2 separate regions of the Homo sapiens genome follow, and region 1 is linked to region 2. Evidence: promoter capture Hi-C in 16 types of primary human blood cells and fetal thymus (Javierre and others, 2016). All regions are on one chromosome and are shown on one strand. Each heading gives the region's core, a stretch centred on a gene start or on the middle of the fragment in contact. The rest is flanking DNA. Distances are from core to core; before and after follow the strand shown. Region 1 holds the start of PGRMC2 (progesterone receptor membrane component 2). Region 2 holds the start of SMARCAD1 (SNF2 related chromatin remodeling ATPase with DExD box 1).

The links. Contacts are between HindIII fragments. The CHiCAGO score rates a contact against its expected background, and 5 or more counts as called.
Region 1: a contact is called between the fragment with the promoter of PGRMC2 here and the fragment with the promoter of SMARCAD1 in region 2, in 4 of 17 cell types (total CD4 T cells, activated CD4 T cells, naive CD8 T cells and 1 more). The highest score is 9.2, in total CD4 T cells.

The regions. Positions count from the first base shown.
Region 1 is chr4:128,284,832-128,290,171 of GRCh38, forward strand. It overlaps PGRMC2 (progesterone receptor membrane component 2), which reads right to left and starts at 2,982. Exons shown (of 3, transcript NM_006320.6): 1 at 2,542-2,982. The coding sequence starts at 2,959. RefSeq lists silencers at 2,622-2,681, 2,862-2,911, 2,922-3,101, 3,422-3,611, 3,983-4,277. The HindIII fragment of the contact is 4,970 bases long and covers 1,438-5,340 here.
Region 2 is chr4:94,206,028-94,211,494 of GRCh38, forward strand. SMARCAD1 (SNF2 related chromatin remodeling ATPase with DExD box 1) reads left to right here and starts at 1,838. Exons shown (of 24, transcript NM_020159.5): 1 at 1,838-2,043; 2 at 2,319-2,557. The coding sequence starts at 2,368. SMARCAD1-DT (SMARCAD1 divergent transcript) reads right to left here and starts at 1,529. Exons shown (of 9, transcript NR_125922.1): 1 at 1,503-1,529. RefSeq lists enhancers at 1,457-1,816, 1,915-2,418. The HindIII fragment of the contact is 2,630 bases long and covers 1,279-3,908 here.

The DNA of each region.
Region 1 (5,340 bases), core at 1,732-4,231, about 34 Mb after region 2:
TAAGATTTTTTGAAAAGTACTACTTATTACATTTTCTATTAATATGCAATATCAACATATTCTAAGCCCATAAAATGATCTGGCTTTCTTTAAGGTTCCTTTCAATAATAAAATATTCAAATATCTGTTATGTTGTTGATCAACTGTAGAATACTAACTGTATATCACTCTTAGGCTGTTCAACAGAACCTAGGAACTGGCAGAAACTAATCTAAAACTGACTTCTCCATTGTAATCTCAAGAGCCTCCCTCAGTGCACATACCATAAAAAAGCAATCTACCACCTATGACTCTTAATTTTTAATTTTTTTTTATACCGAGTCTCTCTCTGTCGCCCAGGCTGGAGTGCAATGGCGCAATCTCGGCTCACTGCAACCCCCACCTCCCGGGTTCCAGCAACTCTCCCTGCCTCCGCCTCCCGAGTAGCTGGGATTACAGGCACCCGCCACCACGTCTAGCTGATTTTCTTGTATTTTTAGTAGAGACGAGGTTTTGTTATATTGGCCAGGCTGGTTTCGAACTCCTGACCTCTGGTGATCCACCCGCCTCGGCCTCCCAAAGCACTGGGATTACAGGCATGAACCACCACGCCTGGCTTTAATTTTTAATTTCTATCACAGAACAAACGTTTGCCACTGGAGGCTGCCAAACTGTTTCTATGACTGTCTCTCTTAGCTATTTTCAGATACTGCCAAGGCATAATGTGTGAGGACTAATACGATTCTTTGTACTAATACTTTGTTTTCTTCAGTGGCAGTTCAGACAGGGTACAAAAGCTGATCTTTTAGCTGGGTAAGGTCTATATTAAAAATTTAAACCTGTACAGGATTTCTAATCACTTAACACATTTTAATACCAATGGGGGAAAAGCTTGAACTAGGTATAAAATGCTGTCTAAATCCTTGATTTAAAAAAAATTTACTTCGCTTGGCCTGTTTAAATACTGTACTTTGGCCCTGTTCTCTTGTCCCACGTGTGCTTAAGTAAACAAAAATGTATTAACCATTTCAGTTGATATAAGTAGGCAGACACCTTGTGTTCACATTTATGTAACCAGAAGCAAAAACTCTGTAAGCTATGTATTTACTTGGTTGGATTAAATGTGTATATATACACAGAAGTACAAACAACTAAGAAATAAATTACATAATTCAACACCAAAAATCTCCTATTTCTTATCCCTATTCCAATGAACAAACTACAAACCAAAGCACTTCTAAAATATCTTCCAGCTATCAAGCACTGAAATCAGAAGTATATATTTTTAAGTGTCAATAAATCTTATACACCTACAGATTAAATTAAGGAGAAAACCAGCTTACTTCCAGACTGCCAACCCTATGACTTTAAGGCTTGGAGGTACTCTCTCCAATAACAGGTCACTTTAGGTCTCTAATTTAATTATTTATTCTTATTGTAGTCACCACTTTTTTTTAAAGCTTAGTATTAATCAGTGCACAACCAGGATGCACAATGTTGCTCAACTGTATGATATACCAACAGGTTCCATGAGTCTGGGGTTTATTAACATAATCCAAAATGTATGCTACAACCACACTGTAAAAAAAGGGCGTCTAAATCAACTACCCTACACAAAGTTCCCTGAAAACAAAGTTCTCTCAAAACAAAGTTCTAAAAATCTTTAACTTGCATAACTGGCACATGGGGGTATAAATCTACAACTCTTCTAAGTTTTTTCTCCTTAGTTCTGCTAAGTGAAAACACAAGTCATTATCAACGTGTACTTGAAAAGAGAAAAAAAAAGAAAAAAGAAACCAGAGACACGCCTGCTGGGTATAGGAGCTCCACCCCCAAAACTCAAGGTGAATATCCTTACCAGTCTTTAATAAGCTCTGCATTCTGGTCTGTTCTCATCCCACATACCTTGTTAATCATGGAAAGCAACTCCGAACTAAAACTGGTTTAAAGAGAGTCCGAGGTGTTGCTTATACGTCTGGACTTCAGAGACTGGAGGGTTGGGACTTTACATGCCCCTAAACGTGGCCTTACGGAGTAATACAGCGAGGGAAAAAAGGAGATCAGTGGCAAAAAAAAAAAAAAAGGGGGCAAGGAAAAGAAAACGGTGAATTACAGAGCCCAAAACTTTAGTTTAGGTCCCAACTTCAGAAATCTCCCTTCCCTGGTGCCCCATCCATCCCAGGAATCAGGAGACTCAAAAAAGGTTAAGGGCCAGCGTTGACCTGTGACAACTAAAACGATTTTGAAAAATCCAGCCAAAGAAACAAAAAAAAAAGGCTGCGAGGAGAAATGGGATGGAAGAAAGATGAATGCTGAGAGCTGGTCTCTGGGGCGCCACCGGGGACCCTGGTTTCGGGGGAAGAACTGGAGGTGCCCGTAGCTGCGGGGGGACGGTGTGTGTGTAGGGGCGGGATGGGCCGTCCCAGGTGCGGCGGCCGAGGCGCGGGGGTCCCGGAGACGAGAAGGCTGGGCAAACTAACCCGGTGCCCAGAGGCCTCCCTGTCCGAAGGGGGTTGTGCTTCAGCTGCAGGGGGTCCTTCCCCTCCCCTTCCAACTCCTCACCCGGGCCGTAGAACTTGCTGCCTTTGGTCACGTCGAAGACTTTCCCATTGACCGCGAGCAGGATGCGCGGGTTGCGGGAGCCGTCGTACTGGCGCAGCTGCTCCAAGCTGAAGTCCCGCTTCTTCATGCGAGGCAGAGAGGTGGCGGGGCTCTCCTCGCCCGCCCCGGCCCCGGCCCCCAGACCCCGCCGCCCCCAGCGCACCCACAGCCGGTAGGCCCCCAGCAGCACCAGAGCCACCAGCGCCACGTTCAGCAGCATTTCCCCGCCCCCCGTCAGAAGCGCCAACGCCGCCGCCGCCCAGCCTCCCCCTTCCGCTGCCGCTCCCGCGTCGCCTGGACTCTCGCTGCCGCCGTCGTTGCTGCTCTCGCTGCCACTCCCCAGGGTGCCTAGCTTCACGTCCCCATCACCAGCCGCCATCACTGCCCGCCAGCGCCTTCCTCCTCCTCCCCGCCCCCTGCCCTCCCCAACCCCACGGCCGGCCCCGCCCATCTGGGGGCCTCTCAGCCAATAACGTGAGAAGAGGGGGCGGGGTCAGGCCGGCTCCTGATTGGGTGTTGACGGGGTAACGTTGTCTCGGATCTCCCGCCCCCTCCCTTCTTTCGCTGGCCGCGCACGCGTGCAACGCCCCGCCCACCTCGCCCCACACTTCCCTGCTCTCACTCCAAGCCTCCGCTAGGTTAAGTAGACGAGCCGGGCGGGTCTGAAGAAAAGATGCTACGACGGCCGCGCGGACGCTCATGGGCGGGGCGAGACCACAGCGCGTGCGCGGGCTCCTGAGCGCCACGCGCTCGCCTTTCGTTCGTAACCCCTGCGGGAGGCACGCCCCGCCCAGTCTCCAGGCTCTGCGCGTGCGCCCTGGAATCGCTTCCCTTCCTAGGCCTGCGTTCGCGTCCGCAAACTCCCGCCTCCTTGCGCTCCCCCCGCCCGGGAGCTTCACGTGCGCCTTGGCGGCCGCGGGGGCAGGTCCGGGCTGGACGCCTGGCGGAGGACGCGGGCAGGTGGCTTGTGGGAGGCTGGGGCATAGTTGAGCTGCAAGGCGCAAACCGATGAGGGGCGTCTGCTTTTCACCAGGGCGCCGTCGCTTTTGTCGGGAAACCGGCAGCGTAGGCGCGCAGACCGGGAAGCGGCAAGAAGATTTGGCCACGAGCTGGGGTCTTCCTGGAACGGAGAGAAAGCACGGAACCCGCACCGGGCTTCTCTGGCATCGGCAGTCTACGTGCTCCTCGCGCTGGCACCGAGCAGCCACTCCCCGCTGGGTTTGGCAAAGGCTGCTCTTGTAGAATTTTAAAGGATTTAGAGTCTCATTATTCCTTGAATCATAACTTCTGCGGCCGTAGGGAAGTGGACAGGTTGAGGTGGTCTTTCTATTCGTCATTCACTCTTATTTGCAGGTTCTGTTTCATGTACTTGGACGTCTTTTAGCCTCTCACACCTTGAAATTCTAGTGTGAAAAAGTGACCTCTGAAGTCTCACGCACTCAACTCGTTTGACGAACTCGTTTGACGTGTTCTCTCTTGCCCTTTGTTGTCTGTTGTCTTGAGTCTCATAGAATAGGTTTGAACCTTTCACTGTCGGTTTTGTAGGAGTCACTGAGGATATTGACGAGGCAAGTGACAGGGTCGACACTCTTGTAGAGAGGCTGTATAGCAACCAGGTGTCTGAAGGATTAGAGGCTGGGGAAAGAGTGGGAAAGCAGTTAGTAGGCTAGGGTATTTGTGCGTGAGGTGAGGAGACTCAGAGCTAGGGGAGACATTAGAGCAGGGGTTGGCAAACATTTTTTGTAAAGGGCCCGATCATATTTTAAGTCTCTGCCTTAACTACTCAGCTCTACCTTGTAACGAGAAAGCAGCCATAGACAATACTTGAATGAGTGTAGCTGTCTTCAGTAAAACTATGGACATTGAATTTTTAATATAATTTCAGGTATGAAATATTCTTTTGATTTTTAAGAAAATCATTGAAATATGTAAATTTTTTTTTTTTTAGTTCTGGAGAGGTGCAAAAACAACTTATAAGCCATATTGCTGAGCCCTGCATTAGAGGTACCTGAGGGAGAGCGACACAATTGGTAGTAAATGACCATATACTCTATCCTTCAATATGGAACACTTTTGGAAGTAAAGTAGGGCATTAATAATTATAGCCAGAGACCAGGAGTTATATCAGTTTTATCCCAGGCAAACCTAAAGGAATAGTCACCTTAAGGTTAAGGGTTAGGAGAAGTCAAAATTGCTTTAGGACTTGGTAACAGAAAATGGGAGGTGCCAGTGATGGAAATAGGAAGATAAAGAAGAAACTGGTTTTGAGGAGAAGATAGCTGTAGCAGTCCCAAGAGCTGTATACAGTTGAGACAACATTGATAGGAAGGAAGAAAGCACCCCAGAAGCAGGCCACTCCTTATATCTTATTGACCAGAACTGGGCTATTAGCTGTCCCTAAAGCAGTAACAGACAAGGAGCATGGGACATCCATGATTGCCTAGTGTTTATCTGGCTTTTTTAATTCTTATTCAGGACTGTGTTGAGCATTGCTGGACATTTACCATCTCTGGTTCCTTCCAGCTAAATGTCAGTACCACACCTCAGGCATTGTGACACCGTAAATCAACCGTTTTTCCCTCCCACCCCCCAGAGGTGTGGTACTGGTTGAGAACCAGTAGCTTAGACCCTCAGGATTTACCTTGGGGCTGAATTAGTGTGTGTAGGTTTCTTTTCCAGTTGGTTTGGAGGGAAGAGAGGAATTGGACAGTATTAAAGTTCTGCTGTCAAGGAAGTGGGCTGGGGAATGTTGGGTAGCTA
Region 2 (5,467 bases), core at 588-3,087:
ACCTCATGATCCGCCCGCCTCCACCTCCCAAAGTGCTGGGATTACAGGCGTGAGCCACTGCGCCCGGCCAGGAGTATATATTCTTAAGCTAACATTTCCATCAAGATAGGTGAATTATATGCAAAAGAAAGGAAATCAGTGTATCGAAATGATATCTGCATTCTCATGTTTGTTGCAGCACTATTCACAACAGCCAAGATTTGGAAGCAACTTAAGTGTCCATTAACAGGTGAATGAATAAGAAAAATGTGGTGCATATACACAGTGGAGTATTATTTCGCCATTAAAAAAAATGAGATCCTGTCATTTGCAACATGGATGGAACTGGAGGTCATTATATTAAAGGAAATAAGGCAGGCACAGAAAAAAAACTTGGTATGTTCTCATTTATTATATTTGTGGGAGCTAAAAAATTAAAACAATTGAACGTATGAGAAACGGTAGAACGATGGCTACCAGAGGCTGGGAAGGGTAGTGTGGGGCGGGGGAGGACCCCGGTGGTCGGTGAGCATGGTTAATGGGTACGAAAATACAGTTTGAATGAATAAGATCTAGTATTTGATAGCACAATAGCATGACTACAGTCAACAACAATTTATTGTACTTTTTTTTTTGAGACAAGAGTCTTGCTTTGTTGCCCAGGGTGGAGTGCAGTGGAGTGATCTCGGCTAACTGCAACCTCCGCATCCCAGGTTCAAGCTATTCTCCTGCCTCAGCCTCCCGATTAGCTGAGATTACAGGCGCCCGCCACTACGCCCGGCTAATTTTTTGTATATTTAGCAGAGACGGAGTTTCACCATGTTGGCTAGGCTGGTCTCAAACTCCTGACCTTGTGATTCACCTGCCTCAGCCCCCCAAAGTGCTGGGATTACAGGCGTGAGCCACCACTCCCAGCTTATTGTACATTTTTAAATGACTAAAATAACTGGATTGTTTGAAACACAAAGGATAAATGCTTGTTATGGATACCCCACTTACCCTGATATGATTATTACACATTGCATGCCTGTATCAAAATATCTCATGTACCCTATAAATATGTACACCTACTATGTACCCGCAAACATTAAAAATTAAAATATTTTTAAAAAATTAATTAATTAATCAAATTCCATTCTAAGAACAATCAAGCCGAAAGTGAGGAATTACTTTAAATGCTTTGAAGCTCAGCATCCCGGGGTTCTTATCCGTCACTAATTACCTATACATTTGCAGGTCTCAGTTTCTTTGCTTTGTAAACATAGGCTTCTTGTAAGGATTGGGATTATACACTGAAAAAGCTTAGCACAGTATTATTACTATTATGCTATCTACATTATATTATAGGTGAAACACTACAGATTATAATACATACAATATATACTAATTGTATTATATATTGTTATTTTTTGTCATTATGCTATTTACTATTGTTCTATTTAATAACTCTCTAGATAATTTAACAGGACAAAGGTACAGAACAATCTGGCCCTTACAAGCCGGCGGAGACGGGTACGAATTACCATGACAACAGCGCGCGCCTCGACATTGTCGGCTCGCGCGTTGTTTGGGAAGAAAAAGCCTAGGCTGCGTGTTGCGTCATCATTACGCGCTCTTAAGGTTTCTCCGTGGTGTTTTGGAAGGTCCCGGCACGGCTACCGTCGCCCCACGCTAGGAAATTTTTTTTTTATTTTCAACCTTTGTTACATAGCACTGAGGCTACAAGATCGTAAGTACTGAGGGAAGAAAGAACAAGCGAGCGATTGAACGTTAAAAAGATGCCTTAGCATGCACTCCACCTCTGAACCTTCCTGTGTGTTCTTAATCCTATCAGCTTCCTCTCAGCTGGGATCGCGCCGCGTCAACTTCCGGGCGGATGCCCGCCAGCACGGCCTCCGCCGCTCCCCTTCTTTGGCCCCTTTGTGTCCCCGCAGTGTCGAGGCGCGGGCCCTGGCAGGTCCTTTCTCGAGGCAGGGGGCACGGTAGCACAGGGAGCTTCTCTTTGTGGGCGGGCGCGAGGCCCGCTAGGGGGTTATACTGGGGAACGTGCCTGCGCGTGCTTGGGTAAGAGGAGGTTGCATGAGGGTCAGCTCGTGGTTTCAGTAAGGAGGGGCGGGCGGGGGAGGCGGACGAAGGGGAGTGAAAAGCAATGGAAAATTTTAAAAGATACCCCCGTCCACCTTCTAATTGTTGCGGCCTAACAATGAAGCGCAGCCATAACAGTCCTGAGCCACTGGCATGTTTGCGGGCCCTTTATTGCCTTGGGAATAAACTGCTGTGGCATTGTATCGTATATTGTTTTCATGGCCTTTTTTCCTCTCTTTATTTTTCCCCTGCAGATAGTTCATTTAAAGCCCCCATCCCTGCAAGGTGGTGCTTTCTACCAATATGAATCTTTTCAACCTGGACCGTTTTCGCTTTGAGAAAAGGAATAAGATTGAGGAAGCGCCCGAAGCAACCCCTCAACCTTCCCAGCCTGGCCCTTCTTCACCAATTTCTCTTAGTGCTGAAGAGGAGAATGCTGAAGGGGAAGTTAGCAGGGCAAACACTCCTGATTCAGATATAACTGAAAAAACAGGTGAGTTACAATGTTAAAATTGATGTAACATCAAGGACAGTTTTTAAAAGATGAAAGGCAGAAGGGATTCTCATTTTTATTCTTGATGTCATATATATTGATGCATTGTCCTGCGGTGTGCCCTTTTAAATACAGCTTTGGGACTGCCATAAGCACCATGTACCCTCAACTGAGCATCCATCCATTGTCGCCTCACTTTTATATGAGTTCTTCGAATATGGCCCCATGGTGGAAGTTGAAATTAGAATTTAGGGCATCCATAGGTCAGAACGGTTGCTATTGGAAGAGCGATGTCAGTGATTCAGTCCTATGATAAACTTTGAGGCTATTTGGGCAGACATTTTCATTCATTCCAGTATTCCCTCAAAATATTGATCATCTACTGTGAGCTAGACATTGAGCAAGGTGCCTAAAGACAACCTCTGTACACAAGGGAAGATCAGATCACATCAAGTTCTTGCATCCACCTGACTTCCTGGATGTCCTCAGAATGCAAATGAGTAATTGGTATTCTTCATGGTGAATGAACATTTTTAACCTCATCAGCAGATTGTCAGAGACAAAAGTATTTGAGGATAAGCCAAAAATTAAGATTTCCACTCGAATCTATGTTCATTGAACAGTTAACTATTAGAGGAATATATTTGAGCTCTTGTTGTATTATAGGAATAGTGATAAGTGCTTCACCTTCTGTCATTTAATTTGCACAATAATCCTACAAGGTAGATATTACTGACATAGAGGTTAATGTGAAATGAGATTCAGAGAGGTTATTAGGAACTTGGTAGAGCCTGAACTCAAGTCCTGGCAGTATGATTCCTGAGCATAAACTAATTAGTTAGTTTCTTAGGAAAGGTGAAAGGAATGTTGGAAGTTATATTTTAATATTTATTTCAGTAATATCTTTTTTTATGCAAAACTCTGTTTCGTAAACAGCTTTTAACTTAATGTAGCCTGAAAGATTGGTAACACACATGTTTATCCTTGGTATCTTTTTGTTTGCCACCCTTCTACTTAAATGTAATAATGATGGCAGATCCTCTGCAAGTTATCATTAGAATAACATTTTTAAATACTTTGGTGTAATTGGAAATTGGCAGAATGATTTGGTAGATTGGATTAGGAGTCAGATTTACAAAGGCTTTGTCTAAGTAGTTTTGAATTTAAATGCTATAGGGAACAACTGAAGGATTTTAAGCACCAGGATTTTAATCCCTGTGTTCACTCTTTGAATAGATATTTGACATCCAGGTATTTTAATGCTTTTCCAATGAATATATTTGTCTGTTTCCTCTGTAGTTAGATAGTTCAGGAAAGCCAAGGTGTAGACATGGGATTTCGAGTCCATAGAAGCTTCTGCTTCTTCATTTTTGTTAAATGTGGGACATTAGACAAGTCATTTGAAATCTGTGATCCACACTTTTTTCATCTCTGAAAGTGAAAGCAGTTTGTAAACTGGATTTCAGTGGAATGTTTTAGTTATTTATCAGTATTGGTCATGTGAAATCTTTAATTTCCTTTAGTGATCAGAAGATATTTTTCTGTTTTTATTTCTTTCTAATGATAACACTCATTTTCTCTTTATTGGGACTTTTTTCCATACATAAATTCTGCTTAAAAACTGAGATTGCTTTAGGAATTACATGATCAGCCTTGATGGCTTCGGGAAATAAGAAAACTAAGTTTGTTCTAGGAATGTTGAGAATTAATCCTTGTAGGAATGGAGCACTTTGCTTTAATAAAAGATTGTTTTAAATGATACTGTGAATTTTGGAGAATCTTGAAAACTGAGAAGTTTAGATTTTACATTGTAAGTATTAGATATCCATTGAAGAACTTACAGAGTGAATGGAAAATGGTGAAAGAAAGTTTTAAAAGTCAGTTTAGCAGTAGTGACTAGTACACACTGATTGAGGGTAGGGATTGAAGGGAAAGAAAACATTTAGGCAACTCCTGTAATTGAGCTTAATGATAGCGGTAGAAATGGAGAAGAAAGAGATATGAGAGGTTTCAAAGTAATGAAGGGCAGGGTTTAGATCCCTGATGGGAATGAGATAAGATGAATGGTAAGATTTTTATGCGCGGTGGCTGAAGCCTGTAATCCCAGCACTTTGGGATGCAAAGGTGGGCAAATCACCTGAGATCACAAGACCAGCCTGGCCAACATAGTGAAACCCCGTCTCTACTAAAAATACAAAAATTAGCCAGGCATGGTGGAGCGTGCCTGTAATCCCTGCTGCTCAGGAGGCTGAGGCACAAGAATTGCTTGAACCTGGGAGGCAGAGGTTGCAGTGAGCCTAGATCACACCACTGCACTCCAGCCTGGGGGACAGAGACTGTATCTCAAAAAAAAAAAAAAAAAAAAAGGTAAATGTCTTTAAGAATTCAAATAAGAATCGAAGGTCTGGCTGGGCACAGTGGATCACCCCTGTAATCCCAGCACTTTGGGAGGCTGAGGCGGGCTGATCAGCTGAGGTTGGAAGTTCAAGACCAGCCTGACCAACATGGAGAAACCCCGTTTCTACTAAAAATATAAAATTAGCTGGGCATGGTGGTACATGCCTGTAATCCCAGCTACTCGGGAGGCTGAAGCAGGAGAATCACTTGAACCCTGGAGGTGGAGGTTGCAGTGAGCCGAGATTGTGCCATTGCACTCCAGCCTGGGCAACAAGAGCAAAACTCCATGTCAAAATAAATAAATAAATAAGAATAAAAATCAAAGGTCCTGCCCCCAAGTGCTAATTTAGCCTGGGGTCTAGGGATTGCTGAGGAAGTGGGGATTCAGAATTGAGTGTTGGATCTCTGGAGAGGACAAGATACTGAAGTTAGATTTTAAGGTCAGGACTGGAGATGAAAATTGGTGAATTATAAATAGGATGTGACTATTGACCTTACTTCTTTATCATGTGG